2 separate regions of the Homo sapiens genome follow, and region 1 is linked to region 2. Evidence: promoter capture Hi-C in human tissues and cell types (Jung and others, 2019). All regions are on one chromosome and are shown on one strand. The core of a region is centred on a gene start or on the middle of the fragment in contact, and the rest is flanking DNA. Distances in the headings are between cores, read along the strand shown. Region 1 overlaps GTPBP3 (GTP binding protein 3, mitochondrial). Region 2 holds the start of CCDC124 (coiled-coil domain containing 124).

What was found. Contacts are between HindIII fragments. The study calls those that stand out against the background at their distance.
Region 1: a fragment that was not itself captured here is called in contact with the fragment with the promoter of CCDC124 in region 2 in 1 of the 25 tissues and cell types used here (dorsolateral prefrontal cortex).

The regions. Positions count from the first base shown.
Region 1 is chr19:17,338,290-17,342,913 of GRCh38, reverse strand. It overlaps GTPBP3 (GTP binding protein 3, mitochondrial), which reads right to left. Exons shown (of 9, transcript NM_032620.4): 3 at 4,463-4,549; 4 at 4,173-4,375; 5 at 3,888-3,960; 6 at 3,648-3,791; 7 at 3,315-3,480; 8 at 1,592-1,870; 9 at 183-1,436. The coding sequence ends at 1,211. Among named protein-coding and RNA genes, the nearest start is that of GTPBP3, 3.0 kb to the right of the region's middle. RefSeq lists an enhancer at 4,377-4,624. The HindIII fragment of the contact is 4,795 bases long and covers 568-4,624 here.
Region 2 is chr19:17,931,738-17,936,137 of GRCh38, reverse strand. It overlaps CCDC124 (coiled-coil domain containing 124), which reads right to left and starts at 3,123. Exons shown (of 5, transcript NM_001136203.2): 1 at 3,090-3,123. RefSeq lists a silencer at 2,961-3,010 and enhancers at 3,091-3,280, 3,301-3,360, 3,507-4,045. The HindIII fragment of the contact is 29,527 bases long and covers 1-4,400 here.

The sequences.
Region 1 (4,624 bases), core at 1,716-4,215, 590 kb after region 2:
AGACTAAAGACTAAAAAAGGAATGAGGCCAGGCACCGTGGCTCACACCTGTAATCCCAGCACTTTGGGAGGCCAAGACAGCAGGATGGCTTGAGTCCAAGAGCTCAAGACCAGCCTGGGCAACATAGTGAGACCCCCCATCTCCATAATTCTGTTTTTTTTTTAAAAAGAAATGACAATTTGTAGAGCAATGAACACAATACCATTTATATATGATACACAAGACAAACATATTTGAAAGGTACATCCACAAGTATGCAAACATTCAAAGTTCTGGAAAGACACACATTAAGCCATGACAACCACAGAAGGGCTAAGGAAAATTTCCATGTTGAAACACTTCTGGGGCCAGGTGTGATAGCTCACGCCTGTGATCCCAGCACTTTGGGAGGCCAAGGTAGGCAGATTACCTGAGGTCAAGGAGTTCAAGACCAGCCTGGTCAACATGGTGAAACCTTGTCTCTACTAAAAATACAAAAATTAGCCTGGCGTGGTGGTGTGCGCCTGTAGTCCCAGCTACTCAAGAGGCTGAGGCAGGAGAATCACTTGAACCCGGGAGGTGGAGGTTGCAGTAAGCCGAGGTCGCACCACTGAACTCCAGCCTGGGTGACAGAGCGAGACTCTGTCTCAAAAAAAGAAAAAAATTAGCCGGGCATGCTGGCACATGCCTGTAATCCCAGCTACTCAGGAGGCTGAGGCAGGAGAAGCGCTTGAGCCCCGGAGATGGAGGTTGCAGTGAGCCAAGGTCGCACCACTGCACTCCAGCCTGGGCAATAGACAGAGGAGGGAAGGGTAGGGGAAGGGGAAGGGGAAGGGGAAGGGGAAAGGGAAAGGGAAAAGGAAAGGGAAGGGAAGGGAAGGGAAGAAAATAAACACTTCTAGATCACCTGAGTTTTTTTTACATTCCTTTGGTATTTGCAAAATAAATAAAAAACTACGAAACAAATATACTGAGATCCTCCTATCTCCATCCCAACCCGGATGCCCCAGCATCAAGGGTCGAACGGGACCTCCATTCAGCCCCATTCCAGGGCCTGAATCTCCAGGGAGTCCCTGCAGGGATCTCACTACCTCTCAGCTGTGTTGCTTCACTATTTGAGAATCAAGTTCTTTCCCAGGCGAATGAGAATCCCAATTGGCCTAAACTGTTTCCAGATCCCCCGAGGCTCCTGGGTCTCCACGCAGCTTGGGTGCGACTTCCCTGGATCCCGTCACTTGCCCACACAGAAGTCCTGGAAGATGATGTCCAGGATCTCCTCGGTACCCCCTCCACCTGTGAGCCGGGTCAGGTGACCCCGGGCCACCCGCAGCGCCTCTGCCGCCAGGGCCAGGTCTTTTGACTGCTTGTAGTGGCCGAGGGCATCCAGGCAACCCTGGAGGTGGTGCTGGTGCCTTGCTCGGGTCAGCAGCGGGGGATCTGTGGACGGGTCCCCACACCTGGAAGAGACAAGAGACATGGTCTCTCCCGACCTTTTACAACCATCCCTTGAAGGGGAAATGGTTGTACCCATTTTGTAGGTTCAGAAATTGAAGTTGAGGGACCCACACTTAAACTGTGGGTCAGGGGAGGCTGGGAGTGGGAGGGGGCTCACACTGCAGCTAGCTCCTTCCTCAGCGCCTCCAGGAGGCCGTCCAGCCCCTCTCCCGTCAGACAGGACAGCAGCAGGTGCGGGGGCAGGTCAGGACCGGGACCTGGGCCCTCCGGGGACAGCAGGTCCGACTTGTTCAGCACCAGGAGGAGGCGCTGGCTGCTGTCACTGGGGCTCTGGGCTCCCACAGAGGCTACGACGGTGGCCAGGAAGTTGCAACTGGAGGGAGAGGCCAGGTCAGAAGCATCCAGCATGGCCAGAATGAGGTCAGCCTGCTCTAGCCTGCGGGAGCAAGGTCAACTGAGCGGGGATCCCAGGTTGAGCAATTGAAGGCACTGGGTGGAGGGACAGTTAGAGGGGCCAGGCAGAGCACTGGGGGAGCTGCGAAGCGTGAGGTCGGGAGGGAGGAGTAGAGTACCAGGGGACCGGCAGAATGTTGGGGGCCCAAGCCGAGCACAGGGGGTGGGGCAGAGCAAGAGGGGCGGGGCACAGTGCAGGGGGAAGGGCAGAGCAAGAGGAGCGGTCACGGTGCGGGAGCGGGGCAGAGCAGGAGGGGCTGGGCACAGTGCAGTGAGTAGGGCAGGGCAGGAGGGGCGGGGCACAGCACAGGAGGGCGGGGCAGAGCAAGAGGGGCAGAGCACTGTGCAGGGGGAAGAGCAGAGCAAGAGGGACAGGGCACAGCACAGGGGCTGGGACAGAGCAAAAGGGGCCGGGTACAGCACTGGAGTGGGGCGACCATGAGTGGCGGGGCAGAGCAAGAAGGACCAGACACACCACAGGGTAAGGGGTAGAGAGCACCAGGGGTGGGGCAGAATGTAGGGGGTGGACAGAGCACAGGGGATGGGATAGACCGCAAGGGGCAGAGCGGAGTGCCAGGGCGGGACAGAGCACGAGAGGGCGGGGCAGAACGTGAGGGCTGGGCGGAGGGCTTAGGGATGAGAAACATGTCCGGAGGGCCGGGGGCAGGACTTAATCAGAACTAAATCACTGGCCGGGCACAGTGGCTAACGCCTGTAATCCCAGCACTTTGGGAGGCCGAGGCAGGCGGGTCACCTGAGATCAGGAGTTCGAGACCAGCCTGGCCAACATGGTGAAACCCCCATCTCTACTAAAAATACAAAAAATTAGCCTGGCATTGTGGTGGGCGCCTCTAATCCCAGCTACTCGGGAGGCCCAGGCAGAAGAATCACTTGAACCCGAGAGGCGGAGGTTGCAGTGAGCCGAGATTGTACCACTGCACACTCCAGCCTGGGCAACAAGAGCGAAACTCCGTCTCAAAAACAAAAACAAAACACCAGGCCAGGTGCGGTGGGCTCACAACACTTTGGGAGGCCGAGGCTCAGGAGTTAGAGACCAACCTGGCCAACATAGTGAAACCTCATCTCTACTAAAAATACAAAAAAAAAAAAAAAATAGTTCGGCGTGGTCGCTCCCGCCTGTAATCCCAGCTACTTGGGAGGCTGAGGCAGGAGACTTGCTTGAACCCGGAAGACAGAGCTTGCAGTGAGCTGAGATACCGCCACTGCACTCCAGCCTGGGCGACAGAGCAAGACTCGGTCTCGGAGTAAAAAAAAAAAAAAAAAAAAAGAACCAAATCCCTGAGATCCATGCTTGATAGGGCTTAGCAGGTTCTCTGATTCAGGAAGAATGAAAAATAAACGCAACAGGGAGAAAAGGCAGAGAAAGGGCCCCGCGTTCCCCTCCCATCACCACCCTGTCCGCCCACCTCTCCCGGGCGCGCCGCACGCCCTCCTGCTCCACGGGCCCCACGCCCTCCCGCAACCCAGCCGTGTCGCTCAGCAGCACAGGAAATCCGGCCAGGTCGACTGGGGTCTCCAGCACGTCACGGGTGGTCCCTGGCTCCGGGGACACGATGGACACAGGCTTCCGACCTGGGGGAGGGTCAGAAGAAGAGGAGAGGGTGGAGACAAGGGAGCTCCTCCCCCAGGTTCTACCCCATGTCTGGAGGGAGCTTTAGACCTGAACAACTAACTCAATAACCCAGCTCTTGGCCCCGCCCCTGGCACTAGGCCCCGCCCCCTTCCCGCCGCCTACTCACTGAGCAGGTTCACTAGGCTGCTCTTGCCCGCATTGGGGGGTCCAGTGACCACTACGTGCACCCCTGAGCGGAGCCTCTGCCCGCGCCTGGCATCTCGTAGATGTGCACCCAGGGCCACCTGCAGTGCCCGTACTTCGATGTCGGCTGTGGGTGAGAGAAGGCAGGCAGAGAGAGACAGTGAGGGGAGCCTTTGAGGGCTGATATGAGGTGTCTTCCTCCCCCACCACCAGGTAGACCCACCTTGCTCCAGGACCCCCTCCTCCAGGTTGTCATCCTCGCCGAAATCGATATAGGCCTCCACGTGGGCCAGAGCCTGGCGGGGCAGGGAGAGCAGAGGTGGTGTGTGCACCCAGAAACCCACCTTCCCACACCCAATTTGTCCAGCCCGACTTCAGGGGCCAGAATGGCGGCTCATAGGCCGGAAGCTTTCACGCAGGGAATGAATGCGGGATTGAGAGGGGGTCTCATGCAGGGGTTGCACAGATGGGGTCTCTGAGGGAGAGAATGGACAAATGGGGGACTTGCTTTGGTGAGGGTCTCGGCCCAGCCACGGCAGAGGTGGCCCAGCTCTCCGTCCAGCTGCCTGAGGGCCTGCCGCCGCTGCGCCTCTGTTTCCGCGTGGATAAGGTCCGCCAGCCCCTCCACTTCGGTCAGGTTCAGCTTCCCATTGGCGAACGCCCGTCTGGTGAACTCGCCTGCCTCCGCCGGTCGAAGCCCTGGCACGCTGCCTGCAGGAAGGTCCCAGTCTGACACCCCCTGGTCCCCACCCAGGCCCATTGGGAGGACCAAGCATCTCACCCAACGCTGCAACTCACCCAAGGCCTGCAGGACGCCGCTCACCACTGCCGGGCCTCCATGCACGTGGAACTCCACGCAGTCCTCACCGGTGAAACTCTGGGGACCTAATGTGACAGACAGGTGACAGGAGGACAGCACAGCCAGTGCAAACCCTTGGAAGGGGGAAACTGAGTCATGGG
Region 2 (4,400 bases), core at 1,874-4,373:
CGGTCAGAAGTTCGAGACTAGCCTGGCCAACACGGCAAAACCCCATCTCCACTAAAAATACAAAAATTAGCTGGGCATGGTGGTGTGCACCCGTATTCCCAGCCAGTCAGGAGGCTGAGGCAGGAGAATCGCTCGAACCCGGGAGGTGGAGGTTGAAGTGAGCCAAGATCGTGCCACTGCACTCCAGCCTGGGCGACAGAGTGAGACTCCGTCTCAATGAAAGGAAAAAGAATCAATTTAAAGGTGGACAATTCCGGCCAGGCACAGTGGCTCACGCCTGTAATCCTAGCACTTTGGGAGGCCAAGGTGGGCGGATCACCTGAGGTCAGGAGTTCAAAACCAGTCTAGTCAACATGGTGAAACCCCGTGTCAACTAAAAATAAATAAAAATTGCTGGGTGTGGTGGCGGACACCTTTAATCCCAGCTACTCAGGAGGCTGAGGCAGGAAAGCCGCTTGAACCTGGGAGGCAGAGGTTGCAGTGAGCCGAGATCGTGCAACTGCACTCCAGCCTAGGCGGCAGAGTGAGACTCACTCTCAAAAAAAACCAAAAAGCTGGGTGTGGTGGCACATGCCTATAATCCCAGCTACTCGGGAGGCTGAGGCAGGAGAATCACTTGAACCCGGGAGGCGGAGGTTGCAATGAGCTGAGATCACACCACTGCACTCCAGCCTAGGCGACAGAGCGAGACTCCATCTCAAAAAAAAAAAAAGGTGTACAATTCAGTGTTTAAGTATATTCACAGCGTTGTGCAAATACCACCTCTGTCTAGTTCCAGAACACTTGCACCCCCCAAAAGAGGCCACATCACCATCAGCAGTCACTCCCTATTCCTCTTCCCCTAGCCCCTGGTAACCATCAATCTGCTTTCTGTCTCTGTGGCTTTCCCTGTTCTGGACATTTCAGTCCATATCAATGGAATCACAGGCCGGGTGCGATCACTCACGTTTGTAATCCCCGTGCTTTGGGAGGCTGAGGCAGGAGGATTGCTTGAGGCCAGGAGTTCAAGACCAGCCTGGGCAACATAGCAAGAGTCCGTCTCTACAAAATAAAAAATAATTAGGCACAGTGGCTTGTGCCTGTAGTTCCAGCTACTTAGGAGGCTGAGGTGGAAGGATCGCCTGAGCGTAGGAGGCTGAGGCCACAGTGAGCTATGATTGTGCCACTGCACTCCAGCCTGGGCAACAGAACAAGACCCTGTCTCTTAAAAGAAAAAAAAAAAAAGGAAACAAGGAAACAAGGCACCAATACATACATGATACAATGTGGTTGAACCTCAACAACACAATACTAAGTGAAAGAAGCCAGACACAAAAGGCCACACAGTGTGAGAGTACATTTATTTATTTATTTTGGAGACAGGGTCTCACTCTGTCGCCCAGGCTGGAGTGCAGTGGCGAAATCTCGGCTTACTGCAGCCTTGACCTCCTGGGCTCAAGTGATCCTCCCACCTGAGCCTCCTAAGTAGCTGGGACTATAGGTGCAGGCCACCATGCCTAGCTTTTTTTTTTTTTTTTTAAGGCAGGGTCTGACTATGTTGCCCAGGCTGGCCTTGAACTCCTGGGCTCAAGTGATCCTCCCGCCTCGGCCTTCCAAAGTGCTGGGATTACAGGCCTGAGCCACTGCGCCTGGCCCTTCGTTCCTTTTTATGGCTGAATATTCCTCCACTGCATGGATACGCCACATTTTGTTTATCCATTGTCCACAGCTAGACATTTGGGCTGTTTCCACGTTGGGGCTTTTTTTTGTTTTGAGACGGAGTTTTGCTCTTTCACCCAGGCTGGAATGCAGTGGCACAATCTCGGCTCACTGCAACCTCCACCCACCCGGTTCAAGCAATTCTCCTGTTTCAGCCTCCCAAGCAGCTAGGATTACAGGCACCTGCCACCACGCCCGGCTAATTTTTGTATTTTTATAGAGATGGGGTTTCACCATGTTGGCATGTGCCACCATGCCTATCTGATTTTTGTATTTTTAGTAGAGACGGGGTTTCACTATGTTGGCCAGGCTGGTCTCAAACTCTTGACCTCAAGTGATCCGCTTGCCTCGGCCTCTCAAAGTGCCTGGATTACAGGTGTGAGCCACAGTGCCTGGCAATTTCTGCTGTTTAAGCCACCCAGTCTGTGGTATTAGTTATGACAGCCCAAGCTGGAAATACAGACACTTTTCTCTGTGTAGTAAACACTCACTCACTTGCACACGTCATTCAATAAATATGTACTGGGCACCTAATACGTGTGCGATGCTGGGGAAAGAGGTGGCACAAATGAGCTTTCTGCCTGCATGGGACTCCCAGAGAAGAGCCAACACATGCAATCAGAGTCCTAATAAGGACACGCAGGGCGCCGGGGAAGCCCGGAGAGGGCTTCTGACCCAGCCTGGGTCAAAGGGCTTCCTAAAGGAGACATCTAAGGAAAAGTCTGAATGAGTGGGGGAGAGCGCAGCCTGCACGCGGGATGCAGGAGGTAGGCTGGAAAAGGGGGCGATTTGTATTCCAGGGAGATGGGAAGGTGTGGAGGGCGTTAGAGCCGGGAAGCCCAATCTATGGGTCACACAAGCCCTCTGGGGTTAGTGAGGAGGTGGACTCCCCAGATGGCAGGAGCTGGGAGCCCAGGCGGTACCCAGGGAGTGGCTCAGGCTGGGCGAGGGGCACACTTAGAAGCGAATCAAGACCCATGGGGATTAAGACCCCACGGATGTGAAGGTAAAATAACAGAATACAAAATTCAACAATGCCTCCTCTAAGCAGCCCTCCCGGCTATCCCTTTTGAAGTCCCCCACCACTAATCCCCCTACAAGAGGCCGGGGGAGTCCGCGCCCAACTCTGTCCCTCTCGAGACCAGAAGCTGCCTAGGGGCAGTCCGGGGCCAGGTGGCCTCGAACATGCTGTCGCGTCGGGCTTCAATCGTCTAGTCTGGAAATGGGCATCGCCCCCAACTAGGTGCGGTTCAGACTGGACGCCAGAAGTGCTCCTGCCTCCCAGCACCCCTCCTCCAGCCTTCCCAGGGGATGGTCCCAGGCCAAGCAGCCCCCGCCCCGCGCCTCTGCTCCCCGAACCCGGGTTCCGCCCGCGCCGCAGACGCTCCTACCTTCTTACCCCAGCGCCGGCCCGGTCGCGCCTCCGTGACGTCATCATGGGGCCTGCGCGCTGAGCTCCTGGCGGCGCGCACTCATTGCGCCTCAGTACCGCCGCCATTTTGGTAAAGAAAAAGATGGCTGGGCCTCGGACCCAAGCCAGGGTAGTCAGCCACTTCTTTGTCTCTTCAAAAAGAGGACACTTAATACGCCCTCATTCCCTACGCTCATTTAATATGTTGATGAACCAGGAGGGGCGGGCAGAGGCGAAAATCTAGAACATTGCCTTTACCAAGATGGCCGATGCCCGGATGAAAGATGGCAGCTGCGACTACACACGTGGTCCGGCGGCTTCAGCCTGGAGCGGCCCGGCCGCCAGAGCGCGCCCGCGGTCCATGAGGGGAGGTGGACCCAGTATAGCCCTGAGGAAGCCTCTCCGTAGCTCTTCGCAATCCCTTAACGCTTTAAAAGTGCTTTCCTAGTCCTGAGTCTCTGCGTCCCACTGGTGACGCTGGGGCGGGGCTAGGAGAGGGGAGATAAATGGGGCAGAGAAATTAACACACACCGCGCAGTCCAGGTAGGGAAACCGAGGCTCAGAGAGACCAGGAATTGAGTTTGGCCAAAATGTAACCGCGAGTAGGCTCATAACCGCGAGTAGGCTCAAATTCCGTCTCTTGCTCCTGCCAGTGCCTCTTCCTGGATTGCTGACCTGCTCCCCACTTCTGCAATATTATTTATTAATTTTATTTAGAAATTAGGTTTGAGGCGCCAATTTGTCTTAGGCACTATACTTTAGATTTTCTGCATTTACTACTTCTCGGTGTTCTCAACAGTAAAAATGGCAGTATTAGGGGTCTAAGGTTACACTGGTCCTGACTGTGGAGAGGGAAAAGCAAATGCTTTGGGGGCAGTTCAGGTAGGAGTAGTTGACCACAGAGTCCATTCCCTAAAAGGCATCCCCCCAGCGACCTTGCTGGGACCTAAATCCCAGTGCGCGATGCACCTCCCCTGCTCTAACGCCTCCCCTGGGTTCCCATTGTCCCGCAAGACTCCTCCCACCTCCCACCCCATCTCCCTTGGCTTCCCTCACCCTCCCATTAGCTCTCTGCTCAGGTCGCACCAGCCCCCTTCTTACAAATTGCCAGGCGCAGTCTTGCCTCAGGGAGTTCCCCCAGGAATTTCCCAGGTTTTTCCGTGGCCAGTTCCTTCCCTTCAGGCATGAGACAGAAAGGTCTCTGGGTGCAGGGGGCTTAAAGTCGGAAAATCACATGAAAGATTATTATCCTGGCTGGTCGCAGTGGCACATGCCTGTGATCCCAACCCTT